Regions from separate parts of the Homo sapiens genome. Here regions 2, 3, 4 and 5 are each linked to region 1. Evidence: promoter capture Hi-C in 16 types of primary human blood cells and fetal thymus (Javierre and others, 2016). All regions are on one chromosome and are shown on one strand. Each heading gives the region's core, a stretch centred on a gene start or on the middle of the fragment in contact. The rest is flanking DNA. Distances are from core to core; before and after follow the strand shown. Region 1 holds the start of PRKACG (protein kinase cAMP-activated catalytic subunit gamma). Region 2 overlaps PGM5 (phosphoglucomutase 5). Region 3 overlaps PGM5 (phosphoglucomutase 5). Region 4 overlaps PGM5 (phosphoglucomutase 5). Region 5 overlaps PGM5 (phosphoglucomutase 5).

The links. The method cuts DNA at HindIII sites, captures the fragments that hold promoters and counts their contacts. A CHiCAGO score of 5 or more calls a contact.
Region 2: a fragment that was not itself captured here is called in contact with the fragment with the promoter of PRKACG in region 1 in 7 of 17 cell types (M1 macrophages, monocytes, neutrophils and 4 more); the score reaches 8.1 in M1 macrophages.
Region 3: a contact is called between a fragment that was not itself captured here and the fragment with the promoter of PRKACG in region 1, in 6 of 17 cell types (total B cells, monocytes, M1 macrophages and 3 more). The highest score is 8.1, in total B cells.
Region 4: a contact is called between a fragment that was not itself captured here and the fragment with the promoter of PRKACG in region 1, in 2 of 17 cell types (neutrophils and M2 macrophages). The highest score is 11.3, in neutrophils.
Region 5: a contact is called between a fragment that was not itself captured here and the fragment with the promoter of PRKACG in region 1, in 5 of 17 cell types (naive B cells, M2 macrophages, M1 macrophages and 2 more). The highest score is 7.8, in naive B cells.

What each region holds. Positions count from the first base shown.
Region 1 is chr9:69,012,682-69,015,381 of GRCh38, reverse strand. It overlaps PRKACG (protein kinase cAMP-activated catalytic subunit gamma), which reads left to right and starts at 1,269. Exons shown (of 1, transcript NM_002732.4): 1 at 1,269-2,700. The coding sequence starts at 1,290. The coding sequence ends at 2,345. The HindIII fragment of the contact is 8,295 bases long and covers 1-2,700 here.
Region 2 is chr9:68,417,549-68,420,358 of GRCh38, reverse strand. All of the region lies in intron 6 of PGM5 (phosphoglucomutase 5), which reads right to left. Among named protein-coding and RNA genes, the nearest start is that of PGM5-AS1, 61 kb to the right of the region's middle. The HindIII fragment of the contact is 2,165 bases long and covers 371-2,535 here.
Region 3 is chr9:68,433,904-68,436,603 of GRCh38, reverse strand. The region is part of intron 6 of PGM5 (phosphoglucomutase 5); the gene reads right to left. Among named protein-coding and RNA genes, the nearest start is that of PGM5-AS1, 77 kb to the right of the region's middle. The HindIII fragment of the contact is 3,415 bases long and covers 1-2,700 here.
Region 4 is chr9:68,486,410-68,489,109 of GRCh38, reverse strand. All of the region lies in intron 9 of PGM5 (phosphoglucomutase 5), which reads right to left. Among named protein-coding and RNA genes, the nearest start is that of TMEM252, 53 kb to the left of the region's middle. The HindIII fragment of the contact is 5,173 bases long and covers 1-2,700 here.
Region 5 is chr9:68,452,803-68,455,502 of GRCh38, reverse strand. The region is part of intron 6 of PGM5 (phosphoglucomutase 5); the gene reads right to left. Among named protein-coding and RNA genes, the nearest start is that of TMEM252, 87 kb to the left of the region's middle. The HindIII fragment of the contact is 7,166 bases long and covers 1-2,700 here.

The sequences.
Region 1 (2,700 bases), core at 20-2,519:
GGGCCATCTACCAAGATAGATCATATTCTGGGCCATAAAATGAGCCCCAAGAAGTGTAAAACATTTTAGGTCACACAGAGTATGTTTTCTAACAATGGAATTAAATCAGAAATCAATAGGAAAATTCTTGAAAAATCCCCAAGTATTTGGAAACGAAATAATATACTTTTAAATAGCTTATCTGTCAAAGAAGATGAAAAGGGAGCTTAGAAAATATTTTGAGCTGGATGAAAAGGAAAATACAACATACCAAAATTTGTGGGATGCTGCAAAAAATAATACTTAGGAGGAAATTTATAGCACTAAGTGATTGTAATAGAAGAAAGATTTCAAATCAGTGACCTTAGTTCCCACCTTAGGAAATAAGAGCAATTAAACCCAAAGCAAACAGAAGAAAGGAAATCATATGTATGTGTTAAAATAAAACATTACATGCAGTAAAACTGAATTTTGGGGGGAAGTATACAGTTCTTTGAGGTGTTTGTTTGTTTGTTTGTTTGTTTTTGAGATGGAGTTTCACTCTTATTGCCCAGGCTGGTGTGCAGTGGCACGATCTCTGCTCACTGCAACCTCTGCCTCCCAGGTTCAAGCAATTCTCCTGCCTCAGCCTCCCGAGTAGCTGGGATTACAGGCATGCGCCACCACGCCTGGCTAATTTTTTTGTATTTTTAGTAGAGACGGGGTTTCACTATGGTGGTCAGGCTGGTTTCGAACTCCTGACCTTGTGATCCGCCCGCCTCGGCCTCCCAAAGTGTTGGGATTACAGGCTTTAGCCACTGCGCCCGGCCAGTTCTATGAGTTTTAAAACAAATGTAGACCACCACCCAATACATTGTAACCACCAGCACAATCAGGATACAAACATGTCCCACCACTTCCCACATTCCCTCAGGCTGTCCCTTCATAGTCCAACCGTCCCCTAACCCCAAGCCCTGGCAATCACTGATCTGTTCTCTCACACTATAGTTTTGCCTTTTCTGGAATGTCATAGAAATGGATTCATACAGTAAGTCTCCTTTAGAGTTGGCTTCTCTCACTTGCATAATGCCTTTTGGATTTATCCATATTGTTGAGTGCAGCGGCGTGATCTTGGCTCACTGAAGCCTTGACCTCCCAGGCTCAAGAAATCCTCCCATCTCAGCCTCCCATGTAGCTGGGAATATAAGCGGAGGCCGGGCGGGGGTCGCAGCGCCGCAGCCAGCGCAGCCAGCCCCAGGGGGCGCCATCTCCGCCGCTGCCGCCGCCGCCGCCGCCGCCGCGAGACCCCCGCCCCTGCCGCCGCCACCGCCATGGGCAACGCCCCCGCCAAGAAGGACACCGAGCAGGAGGAGAGCGTGAACGAGTTCCTAGCCAAAGCCAGAGGAGATTTCCTCTACAGATGGGGAAACCCCGCTCAAAACACCGCCAGCTCGGATCAGTTCGAACGGCTCAGGACGCTGGGCATGGGCTCCTTCGGGCGGGTGATGCTGGTGAGGCACCAGGAGACCGGCGGCCACTACGCCATGAAGATCCTCAACAAGCAGAAGGTGGTGAAGATGAAGCAGGTCGAGCACATACTGAACGAGAAGCGCATCCTGCAGGCGATCGACTTTCCGTTCCTCGTCAAGCTCCAGTTCTCCTTTAAGGACAACTCCTACCTGTACCTGGTGATGGAGTACGTGCCGGGTGGGGAGATGTTCTCCCGCCTACAGCGCGTCGGAAGGTTTAGCGAGCCCCATGCCTGTTTCTATGCCGCCCAGGTCGTCCTGGCCGTCCAGTACCTACACTCGCTCGACCTCATCCACCGCGACCTGAAGCCCGAGAATCTCCTCATCGACCAGCAGGGCTACCTGCAGGTGACGGACTTCGGTTTCGCCAAGCGCGTGAAGGGCCGCACTTGGACCTTGTGCGGGACCCCAGAGTACCTGGCCCCCGAGATCATCCTGAGCAAAGGCTACAACAAGGCCGTGGACTGGTGGGCCCTAGGGGTGCTCATCTATGAGATGGCCGTGGGCTTCCCACCCTTCTACGCCGACCAGCCCATCCAGATCTACGAGAAGATCGTCTCTGGGAGGGTGCGGTTTCCCTCCAAACTCAGCTCTGACCTCAAGCATCTGCTGCGGAGCCTGCTGCAGGTGGACCTCACCAAGCGCTTCGGAAACCTCAGGAACGGGGTTGGCGACATCAAGAACCACAAGTGGTTCGCCACAACCAGCTGGATCGCCATCTATGAGAAGAAGGTGGAAGCTCCCTTCATCCCGAAGTACACAGGCCCTGGGGATGCCAGTAACTTTGACGACTACGAGGAGGAAGAGCTCCGGATCTCCATCAATGAGAAGTGTGCCAAGGAGTTTTCTGAGTTTTAGGGGTGTGCTTGTGCCCCTGTGGGTTTTCTTTCCTTTTTGTTTTTGGTGGTTTGGGGGATGGGAGGGTTGGATTGAACAGCCAGAGGGCCCCAGAGTTCCTTGTATCTAATTTCATCCTCACCCCACCCTCCAGGGTTGGGGGAGCAGGAAGCCCAGATATTTGGAGGAACAGAAACACCAGCTGCTCCCTCACCCCCCCCCATGCCTTCCTGGTCCCTCTGTGCTTCTCTCTTTCTCCTCCCACAGGGTCCCCCTTGCCCCAGCCCCCTTCTGCCTGTTTTAAACGAGTTTCTCAGCTCTATTCAGGCCAGGTCTTGCTGTTGTATCAAGGGACACGGTGTGGAAAGAGGGGCTC
Region 2 (2,810 bases), core at 204-2,703, 600 kb after region 1:
AAAGGGGTCAGTTTCCTTCAGTTGTACTCAAGATCACAAGCAGAGAATTTTTCTTCAGATGTGACCTACTTCTGACTACTCCTCCAACCCACAGAATCACAGATGACAAAGCAGCTCTGACTCTGTCTTTGAGCCACACCAAGCCTCAGAGGTTTGCTGCTGGGAGGAACATAACTCTAGGGTCTTCGGAGCCCCCAGAGGGAGAGCTGAGCTGAGACTGCCATCAATACAGCAGGAATGGCTGAGCCCATTAAATAGCAGGAATTCCTCTAGGTGTACGTTTTCAGCTTGATGATACCTTGATTTGGTGTGCAAGCAGTGACAGGTCCAAACACTGGGGTCAAGACATTTTCCATGCACTTGAAAAGCTTCCTTAAGTGAGACTACAGATCAAAGGCAGCTACGCCATTTGGTAGGGAGCATTCAAAGCCTGATGGGAATCTGATTTTAACAGACAGTCTTCCAGCAGCATTAACACTCTGTAGAATGGAGATGAGGGGGATATCTCAACAATGTGAGGCTCTAACAGAATTCTGTCAAGAGGGGAAAAGGCCATCCACTGCAAAAGAGGCACAAATCCTGCCCTAGATGTTACACTGAAAATTCTTTGATTTCTACCACAAAATTATTCTGTCTTGGCTCTGAGATAACTGACATTGCCAGACTGGGGGCATTTAAATGCTAAGTAAAGACAGCAATAGATGCTGGTTACCAGGGAATGCTTCTAAGCAAAGCTAAGTCTCTGAGAGGATCAGCAGAGGAATTGTGGAGCCATCCTAGTCCTACTTTCTTTCCCCGGACCCCTAAAGTATGGCTTCTTCTGCCTCAGTTTTAAAATGCCCCAGCTCGGTCTGAAGCAGTACCTACTCTGATCATGGCCAAATCCTCCCCACAACCAATTCCTCCCAACCAGGATGCCCTTCTTTTCTAGACACCTGACTGGTGGAAATGGAGGGGGAGAAGCAAAGATAAGGGCTGGGAGCTCAGCATTAAACCTATTTGTGTTTTGCTGTTTTGCCCATAAAATGGCCAGTGATGGAGACCCCATATATTCATTGAAAATTGCCAGCAGTCTTAGAACTTTAAAACTTGGTGGAAAAAAAAAGTTAAAACATATTATCTTCTATTCATCTTCTTTCTTAGACAACAAAATCTACACATCATGGTGCCTGTATCTTACTCCTAATTAAAAATTAATAATCAGCTATGGAATTGAGATCAATTGTGTGTTACATTTAATCAAAGGTATTTCACCAGATTTCTTTGATCTGATTTTTCTGTTGAGATTTTAAAGCAGAGGTTTATTTCCACCTATACTTTGGGGCAGGGGCGCACCTTGTAAAGTATTAAGTAAAAGTTCCAGCCATTTTGAAACGGGCCACCTGATCTTTACCACATTCTCTTTTTCAGCCGACTATAAAGCTCGCATAAGCCTGGTTCCTCCTGCGGTATCATTTTACCCTCTGAACTTCATCTCCCAACACCTCCTTACTCTCTCTGACTCTGACACCCCAAGCAAGAGGCCATGGGGTGCTAGAGGGGGTTTAGGCTGGTGACCCGGCAGGGGTTCCCAGGAGAAGGAGAAAGCGGGCTTGACAAGGGAGCTGTTCATCTCCCACCCCCGCCGCAGCCAGCTGATAAGACCCCCAGGGCTCAGAGGGCATTCAGAAGGAGCCATCACAGGCGCAGAAACCACAGCGCAGCCAGTCAAGTCGTCCTGCCAAACAGCAGGCCGCAGCAAGGTGAGAAACACAGGGGAAGGCTGCAGCAGCAGCTGCAGCATCGGAGATTTCTTCTGCTTGAACACAAAGCATCCTTTCTCCTGTCGCCTTTTCAGTTTAGGACAAGCTATCAGTAACAGAGTCTGATTTCCAAAGCACTTCTCTCTCACACCCTCAATGCAGCAGGGTGTTAACTAAAAGGTCTGCAGGCTAAAAATAATACCACTTGTCTGTAAAGCTGAGCGCAGGAACAGAGTCAGGTTCTGAACTCAGATACCTTGTCTAAGCCAAAGTAGAATGGGAGGTGACAGAAACCCCATGGGGCTAATTCCCAGAGGATCCCTTCCTAAGTCCACAGAGTAAATACAACAACATTCTAGTTGATTTGCCCAGTGAAATGGGACACTTTTGTGGGCAGGCTGATATGACTCCTAAGCTCAAGACACCTTTAGTCAAATTCAACAAACAAAATGGAATCACGCCAGCAGGTGACTATAGGAAGACATATGGGGATGTGATATAGTGAAGGACAAAGTGGAGAGAATGGCCCTTGGTGGCCCCCAAAGCAGCTCAGCCTCTTGTCAGGGGAGAAACAGCAAAACAAGAGAGAGATCAAAGACAGAAGAATTAAGTTCGCTGCTCCCTGGTGGTATCAGAGAGAGCTTTGGCAATTGTGCATCTCAATTGAAGTGTAAGGCACACAGGGAACAGTTACTGCCAGAGGTTTCCATAACACAGAAAGTGAAATCAAAGTAGCCCAAGAAACCAGAGACAGGGGAGAGACATGGTCCAACTGAGGCAGAGCTAGAAAGCTTTACCTGACTTCCTCCAAGGTCTAGCATCAGATCCCAAGAAATCTGGGTGGCCGCATAGAACAATCTTTCAAGACAGGCAGGAAAAGGAGTAAGGCCTCAGCGGCTATAGCTGAAGCAAATAAGTTTTGAAGACAGGAGTTGCCCCAGAATTGTGTCGCATTTATATGCTTTCTTGTCTCTTCCTGCTTGATGAGGTGTGTAATGTACTAATCTCCAACATTAATTTTACTTCTCAATATACTTTGGGGTTAAAAATGCCTATCCTATATTTTGA
Region 3 (2,700 bases), core at 198-2,697, 580 kb after region 1:
AGACATACAGGAAATGCTAAACAACCAGGTCTCAGAAAGAGAAAAAGCCTCATGTTGTTCAGAACTAAGGAGTGTATACAGTTTGTCATTGGCTTGTCATCACCTTGACCCAGATACTCCTTCTCTCTGGCTGCTCGTCTTCATTCTATAAGTACATTTTTTATCTTCCGGGTCCTGCTTTCTCATCATTCTGGTTGTGTATAACTTCCACGATCATCTTGACCTACCAGCTTCCCTCCGCCAATGACCTGTAAACTACTCCCACTAAGTCTTACCTACTTCTTATATATTCAAATTACTAGGTTCAGGATTATTAAAAACAAGACATGATAGGCTTGGTAATTCCCTGTTTGGGTAGAGCTTTTTGCTGTACCTCAAAGGACACTGACCAGTTTGTAATAGGCTACATTTGTGCTGGTTGCCCACCTTTGGGCTAATCTGTTATGGCTCAAGGGTGAAGTCTTGCTGTGGGAGCTAAGTTATGTGGTGTGAAATAGGCAGGTGGGTCTCCGGGTTAGTTCCCTTAGTAAGTGTGAGGATGTTGGTGCTGGGGCTGACATTTCTGGCACAGTAACTCCTTCAGGCCATATCTAATATAGGCATCCAGCACCATGCCAGATGTCTGGTAGGTGCAATGCATGTTAGTTTACCGAAAAGTTCACCAAGTTACTAACAAATCACCTACTTTGTAAGGTAGAATGCCAGGTACTGTGGCAGTAAGAGTGACAAGGCAGATGTGGTCCCTGTTCTTATGGAGTTTCTACTGTAGTAAATGAGACATCCAAAAATATATATAAGCAACTCAGCAAGCCCACTTTTAGATACAGGATACAGAGAAAAGAAAACACATGTTCACATAAAAACTTGTACACAAATTCTTAAAGCAGCATTATTCATAATAGACAAAAAATATAAACAACCCAAATGTCCATCAATGGACAAATGGATAAACAAAACACACTATAACCATATGGTGAAATATTATTAAGCCATAAAAAGGGATAAAGTTCTGATACATGCTACAACACTGATGAACATTAAAAACATGAGGCTAAGTTAAAGAAACCAGATACAAAAGACCTCATAGTATATGATTTTATTCATATGAAAGTCTGGAAAAGGGAAATCTACAGAGACAGGAAGTAGATTTGTGGTTGCTTAGGGATGGAGAGGTGATGGATGTATGATGGGGTGATAGCTAAAGGGTACAGGATTTCTTTTTTACCCGATGAAAATTGCCAACCATTATGATGATGGTTGCATGTATCTGTGAATAAACTAAAAACTATTAAATTGTATATTTTAAATGTGCAAACTGTATGGTGTGTGAATTATATCTCAATAAAGCTGTTAAAATTCTAAAAACTAAACACATGCAGAAAATTAATAAAATTAAATGTGCATGGGCTATAAAGGAAACAAGAGACTGAGATAAAGAATAAAAGGGAGGGGCTCTCCTTAGGTAGTGTGCTCAAGGGAGGCCTCTCTAAGTGGGTGGCACAGAACCCAAGAACTGGAGGAAGAATAGGAACCAGCTGTGAGAACAGCACTCCTAGTAGAGGAAACAGCTTGAGCAAAGGCCTGGAGGCAGGCAGGACTTATCAGGAGAATGGCCATCACTTTCTCTCCCACTTAGGATGCAAGTGTTTCCGAGTGACTTTAAGATAATTTTTAATTAATTCCAATTTATTTAAAAATCAAATTAACACCAGTCTTTGGCACCTTAACTATAAGTAGGAATAATTTATATGTGGTGTGCAGTAGTCACTCTAGTCAGGACCCTACATCACAGAGAGATCACCATTTTTTTTTTTTTGAGATGGAGTCTTGCTGTCTCTCAGTCTGGAGCGCAGTGGTGCGATCTCCGACTCCCAGGTTCAAGCGATTCTTCTGCCTCAGCCTCCTGAGTAGCTGGGATTACAGGCGCCTGCCAGCACACCCAGCCAAACTTTGTGTTTTTAGTAGAGATGGGTTTTGTCATGTTGTCCAGGCTGGTCTCAAACTCCTGACCTCGGGTGATCCACTTGCCTCGGCCTCCCAAAGTATTGGGATTAGAAGCGTGAGCCACCGCACCAAGCCAAGATCACAATTTTAACACCAGGTTTCACACCTTTGGCTAACTAGCAAACAAAATAATTTACAAATAATATTTTGCAGAGTGGACCTCAAAGTACCCTATCAATGCAAAATTCTCAACCATATCTGTATTGCTGTGAACAGATTTCAAATCTTCACTTTGACATTTTTTTCTTTTTTTCTTTTTCTTTTTTTTTTTTTTTTTTTTTTTGAGACGGAGTCTCACTCTGTTGCCCAGGCTGGACTGCAGTGGCACAATCTTGGCTCACTGCAACCTCTGCCTCTTGGGTTCAAGCCATTTTCCTGGCTCAGCCTCCCAAGTAGCTCGGGTTACAGGCACCCACCACCATGCACAGCTAATTTTTGTATTTTTAGTAGAGACAGGGTTTCACCATGTTGGCCAGGCTGGTCTCAAACTCCTAACCTCAAGTGATCCATCTGCCTCTGCCTCCCAAAGTGCTGGGATTATAGGCGTGAGCCACTGCGTCTGGCCCACTTTGATATTTTATGCGTTAAACTCGAATTGTCTCTTTGAGGGTCTCTTAGGAACTGGTGAATAGGATGTTTTATACAGGATAGTTCCAGACATCTGCAGACTTATTCAGTTAAGTATAGTAAATAACA
Region 4 (2,700 bases), core at 183-2,682, 530 kb after region 1:
TAATATTCTTTAGGGTATCGATGGTGAAGGGAAGAAAGAGCTCACCTAGCATGATGGATGGAAACCCTCGATGTTTGCACAATGAAGTCGCCCCTGAAGAAAGAGTGGCTCACCCTGCAACCCACATGAATCACACAACTCCTCTCTGTCCTATCTCTTTAGAAGGTATAAACTGGGAACTCCTTTAACTACTTAGCCATTTGATCAAAGTGCTCCCCTATTCTCATTGTAGCTATAGGCTTATTTTTTTCCACTTATATTTGAAGAAAATAGCATCAGTCAGTCCTTCATGTGACTAGATTTCACTTGAAAATAGTGACATATCCTCATGAAGATAGAAGGAAGAACTGCAGTTGTTGAACCATGCCTCATGAAAATGCTTTCTAAATCAAACAGAGTCTCTCTTGGGCCCTGTATAGTGGAAAGCACACATCAATTTTTCTCTTGGCATCCGAGGTCACACATGCATCAGACACTTGGAGGCAGCCATAGTAAATCCCATGAAACCAAACATGCCACATTGAGGCCAGGGAGGTCCCTGGGAAATCATGTCAGGGGTTGAGAACTTCAGGGTTTCCTTCTTGCTCCTTGAATGGTCCCATAAAGCCAGGCAGGATAGCCTTCACTGAACGTTTCCACAGCAGCAGGGTTGGCAGTAGTGGGGTGGTTATCACCAGAACAGGATTTTAATTTCATTTTGGATGGAGAAGCATTTCTACTTTATCTCTGGAGATGTATGTGAAACAGGATTTTTTTCCATGGTTTATTTCCTGACTCTGACCTCAGGTCAAGGACATAAAGGAGACCAAGCTGCCTTAAAAAACCTTTCGCTTTCTAAAGCAGAGTGTGTGTGCTGGGGGATGGGAGAGGGGGAGAAATATGAGTTTGAATCAATTCCCAGATGACTTAGAAACTGAAGGGGCCTTCTCAAATCTTTATGTGACACTGCAAAATTGTGTGTTTTTTTTCTGCTTTTCTTATCATATCTGGTTCATTCAATGCTACAGTCTTTCCCAAGGATGCTTTTTTTAAAACATAAATAATTTTATTTAACCAATTGTTATCATTTGTTATGTGCCAGGATTTTATAAGTGTCATCTCACTTAATTCTCCCAAACGCTTATATGAGACAGCCACAATTATTATTCCTATTTCACAGATTTTAAAAATGCAGGTGTAGGGGGGTTGAATAGCTTGCCTAAGATAACCCAGCAAGGAGGTGGCAGAGTTGAGGCTCAAACCCAAAACTTTCTGACTTCAAGCCTGCACACCCAACCATTGCTCACACGATTTACAATGGCACCAAGGTTGCCTTGGGTGCTCTGGAGCAGAAAGCTGCTCTTGAAGAGAATTTCTGTATAAAACGGGAACAGCACAAATTTTAACAATTCATTGTTGAAAATTATTTCTGCTATCTACTTTTTTTTTAAGTAAGTAGAATTTAACCCAAACAAGAGACAACTGGGAATCTCCCACTACCTTGGGATCATCAATCTGAGCCTCAAATTTTACTGCAAAGTACTTTTAAAATAGAATAAATAGAAGAGTTGGGTGAGGGTTTTCTAACCCTAGGGCACACTGATTATTACTTTTAAAAATATACACCTGATTTGTGTGTGTGTGTGTGTGTGTGTGTGTGTGTGTGTATGTGCGTGTGACACAGAGAGAGAGAGAGAGAGAATAGTTGTATCCTTTTCTTGAACTGATATTCAATCAAATTAAGGATTCTGGTCAAGGGGAGGGAACTGATATTTCTTGAGCATCAATTAGGTACTTGCCGCTGTACCTGAGGCTTCACATGACTTTCTCTTCAAACTTTCCCCATGATGCATGTGTGATAATTATCACTAGCTCCTCCCCTCAAGATGAGGTTCAAAGAAGTTAAATAATATGCCTAAAATCACAAATCTAGGCAGTGACAAGGCCAGCTTTCAATCCTGTGTCTATCTGACTCCAACACAAGAGAATACTGAAGAGAACCACAACAACCTGCCTCCTGTAGGAAGCAGACACTTGGCAGTATTATGTCTCCTCTGAGCTTTGCTAACAGAGAGATATAGTTCTGTTTCTCCTTATAGAAATCAAATCTCCTTCTATCTTAATTTAAAAATAATCCATAATATAGTAGGTTGTTTTAAAATAACAGTATTTTTAAATCACAAAGACATAATAACAAGGGTTAGCAAAGGTGTGGAGAAACTGGAACCCTCATATACTGTTGGCAGGAATGTCAAGTGGTGCAATTGCTTACGAAGACCATATGGCAGTTCCTTTAAGGGTTAAACATAGAGATACCATTTGACCCAGCAATTCCGCTCCTAAGTATGTACCCAGGAGAATTGAAAACCTATCTCTGCACAAAAACTTGTAGATGGATGTCCACAGCAGCATTATAGTCAAAAAGTGGAAATACCTCACACATCCAACAGCAAATGGATGGATAAACAAACTGTGGTACATCCACGTGATAGAATATTACTTGGTAATAAAAGGAATAAGTACTGATATATGGTACAAAGTGGATGAACCCTGAAAATATTACAATAAGTGAAAGAAGCTAGTCATAAAGGACCTTGTATTATATGATTCCATTTATACAAAATGTCCCAAATAGGCGAATCCATAGAGACAGAAAGATCAGGGGTTGCCAGGGGCTGTGGGTTGGAGGGATGTTGGGAGGAAGATGACAGCTAAAGAGCA
Region 5 (2,700 bases), core at 154-2,653, 560 kb after region 1:
TAAGAGATGATGCTTATACTTTGTGTACTATGAACATTTCCCCTTCCTTTTCTCCTGCTAACCTGTCCACCAATATCACAGAAAAGAATTCATCAGTCCTGGGTATGGTTCTTATTTTTGGCTCTCTTTAGGGAGTTCCTGTTTTTTGGACAATAGATTAATATCTCTCAGGGCCAAAACTCTACCGATTCCAGGCGGAGATGCCCTGAGCAGGGCAACATGCAAAACTTTGCATTCCCTTTGGGAATGTGAGTGTCAGCTGTCCATGGTGGGTTCAGAATACCATGGATTGAACACCACATTCCACCTGTTTCATTTCATCGTGTAACTCTGATCTGTGACCCAATGGATGACGCAGGTTGCTGTTTCCTATGAAGCCAAATCAGGTCACAGGCAGCTCTCTCTGCATGGTTCCGAGAAGACGAGCATATATCAAGGGATGCACAGGCAGCCACCCTGCCTGAAAGGAACCATCTTCAAGACTGCATTTACCTTCCCAGGGTTTCCTTCGGTCACCCAGGTTTGAGTTTAATTTTATCAGGAAGCATAAGGAAAGGTCATGCCATACTAATTCTGCTCTAATGTCTTTTAAAGAAACACTTCAGTTTAATGACACATAGTTACGAGGAAAGGGAATATTGGAAAGGTCAATGTTCTTTTGTGGGACGTGAGAGTTTTACAGCAAAAGCTAAGGCTGAGTGAGCAGGAAAGGCAGGCAAACATGCGCTGCCTGTGGAATCCAGTTTAATGTCTTAGCACGGAGGAGAGTAGGGACTCTCAGTCCCCACGCAGCTCCACCCCTTCTTGCAGTGCAACCTTGGCCAAGTTACTTAACCTCCATAAGCCTGGATCTTTTACCTACAAAATGGAATGATAATATGTCTCCTTACTCAGTGGGGACTAAATGCGATGAGGCCTGGGAGCCCTGGATCCCCAGAGCACTCCGTGGGCATCGGCAAGAGTGATCGGCCTCATGAACTCTCCTACTGCGGCATCATCCTGCCATAACAAACTATTTTTGAGATGGAGCCCCCTTCAAGCACCAGGCCACTTCAGTTCTTTGCACACATCGTTCACTTAGGTAGGGATACTCCTTGTATCAATGAGGTCCCCAACAGAATTGATGGCACACTCAAAACTGAGTAGTTTGAGAGTTTAATACAGGAACTGTTTACACAGGTGTGGCTAGTGGAGAGGGCAAGTAACATCAGGGCTACCAGCGTCCCATCCCTAGATTCATTACTGAAATCCAGGGACAGATCTGTGTGGATAGGGCTGCTTGGCAGGAACCTTGACCTTCAGAAGAGTCATGTTTCCAGCCTATGGAAATCCTATAGGGAGAGAAAGAAATCCCTGCTTGCATTCTCCTCCTTCTGTCTAGTAACTGCAGTGCTCCCAATTGCCCAAGCCCAACTAAAATCTGGAGGGAAGGGTGGGGATCTCTTGATAGTCCCTATAGGTCAGTCTACAGGACGGGGAGCAGAGAGAAAGAGATGGAGTGGAGGTCTTGAAGGAAAATGAAAGACACCAGTACACTCTTCATCCACCCCCTCCTGGACTTAGGCCGCTTCCTTACTTTCCAGGTTTATCTGGCCAGTCCTCTCTTTGTACTGCCACTGCAAACCCCAGGAGTTAGACACTCAGCACAGGATATTGCCTTAGATGCTGGGACACCTAACTCCTTCTCTAATCCGTTAGTCTCTTGAAGGTAAGTGCTTAAAGACACTTGCTCATTTCATGCAAACTTCATGGGGCCCATCAGAACATGGACTCCTCCTACATTAATATAAAGGTGCTTCCAGAACTTGGTCTTAAAATACCAGTGGAAGCAAATACATGGGATGATTGAAAGTTTGAGATAAGGAGGGAGATTACAGCATGTTCACCCCTGTAATCCCAACACTTTGGGAGGCCAAGGAGGGGGGATAGCTTGAGCCCAGGAGTTTGAGACCACCCTAGGCAAAACTCCTGGCTCAAAAAAAGAAAAAATACTAAAATTAGCCAGCTGTGGTGGTGTGCACCTGTAGTCTCATCTACTTGGGAGGCTGAGATGGGAGGATTGCTTGAGCCCAGGAGTTCAAGGCTGCAGTTAGCTATAATTATGCCACTGTACTCCAGCCTGGGCAGCAGCAAGACCCTGTCTCAAAAAACAAAACCAAACCAGAAAGTTTAAGATAAAATTAAGCGATGGTGGATGAATTTCCAAAGGAATTACATACAAAGGGTTGGCTGAAAAGGTTAATAACCTTATATGTTAATTTACCAAGTCCAGTGCTATAAATTTATTATGAAAAGGTAAGAGACTATGGTAAAAGTGGACTCTCTACTTTGGCAGGATATTTCAAAACCAAATGCTCATTTCATTGTAAAACTTCACAAAGAGGGTAGAGTATACATTTCTCACATTTACACAGAGCACCTTGTGGAGTTGGTGGTTTCATTCAGCACACATGGGAAAATGCTGGCTAAGATTTACCAACCAATATTTTCTTCATAGGACTATGATAGTGGTGGGGTCCAAGGGAATTTACTCCTACTGAACACTTTTGAAGAGCAAGGGAGAAGAAGGACTATGTTAAATGCTTTTAACTCACATCAAGGATTCCCAGCAAGATGTCTTGTCCAAAGAGCCTTGAGAAAGGAGATGTTGGAAGGTGATGCCTTGGAAGCAGAGATACCCCTCCTCCAGGTCCTAGTTTG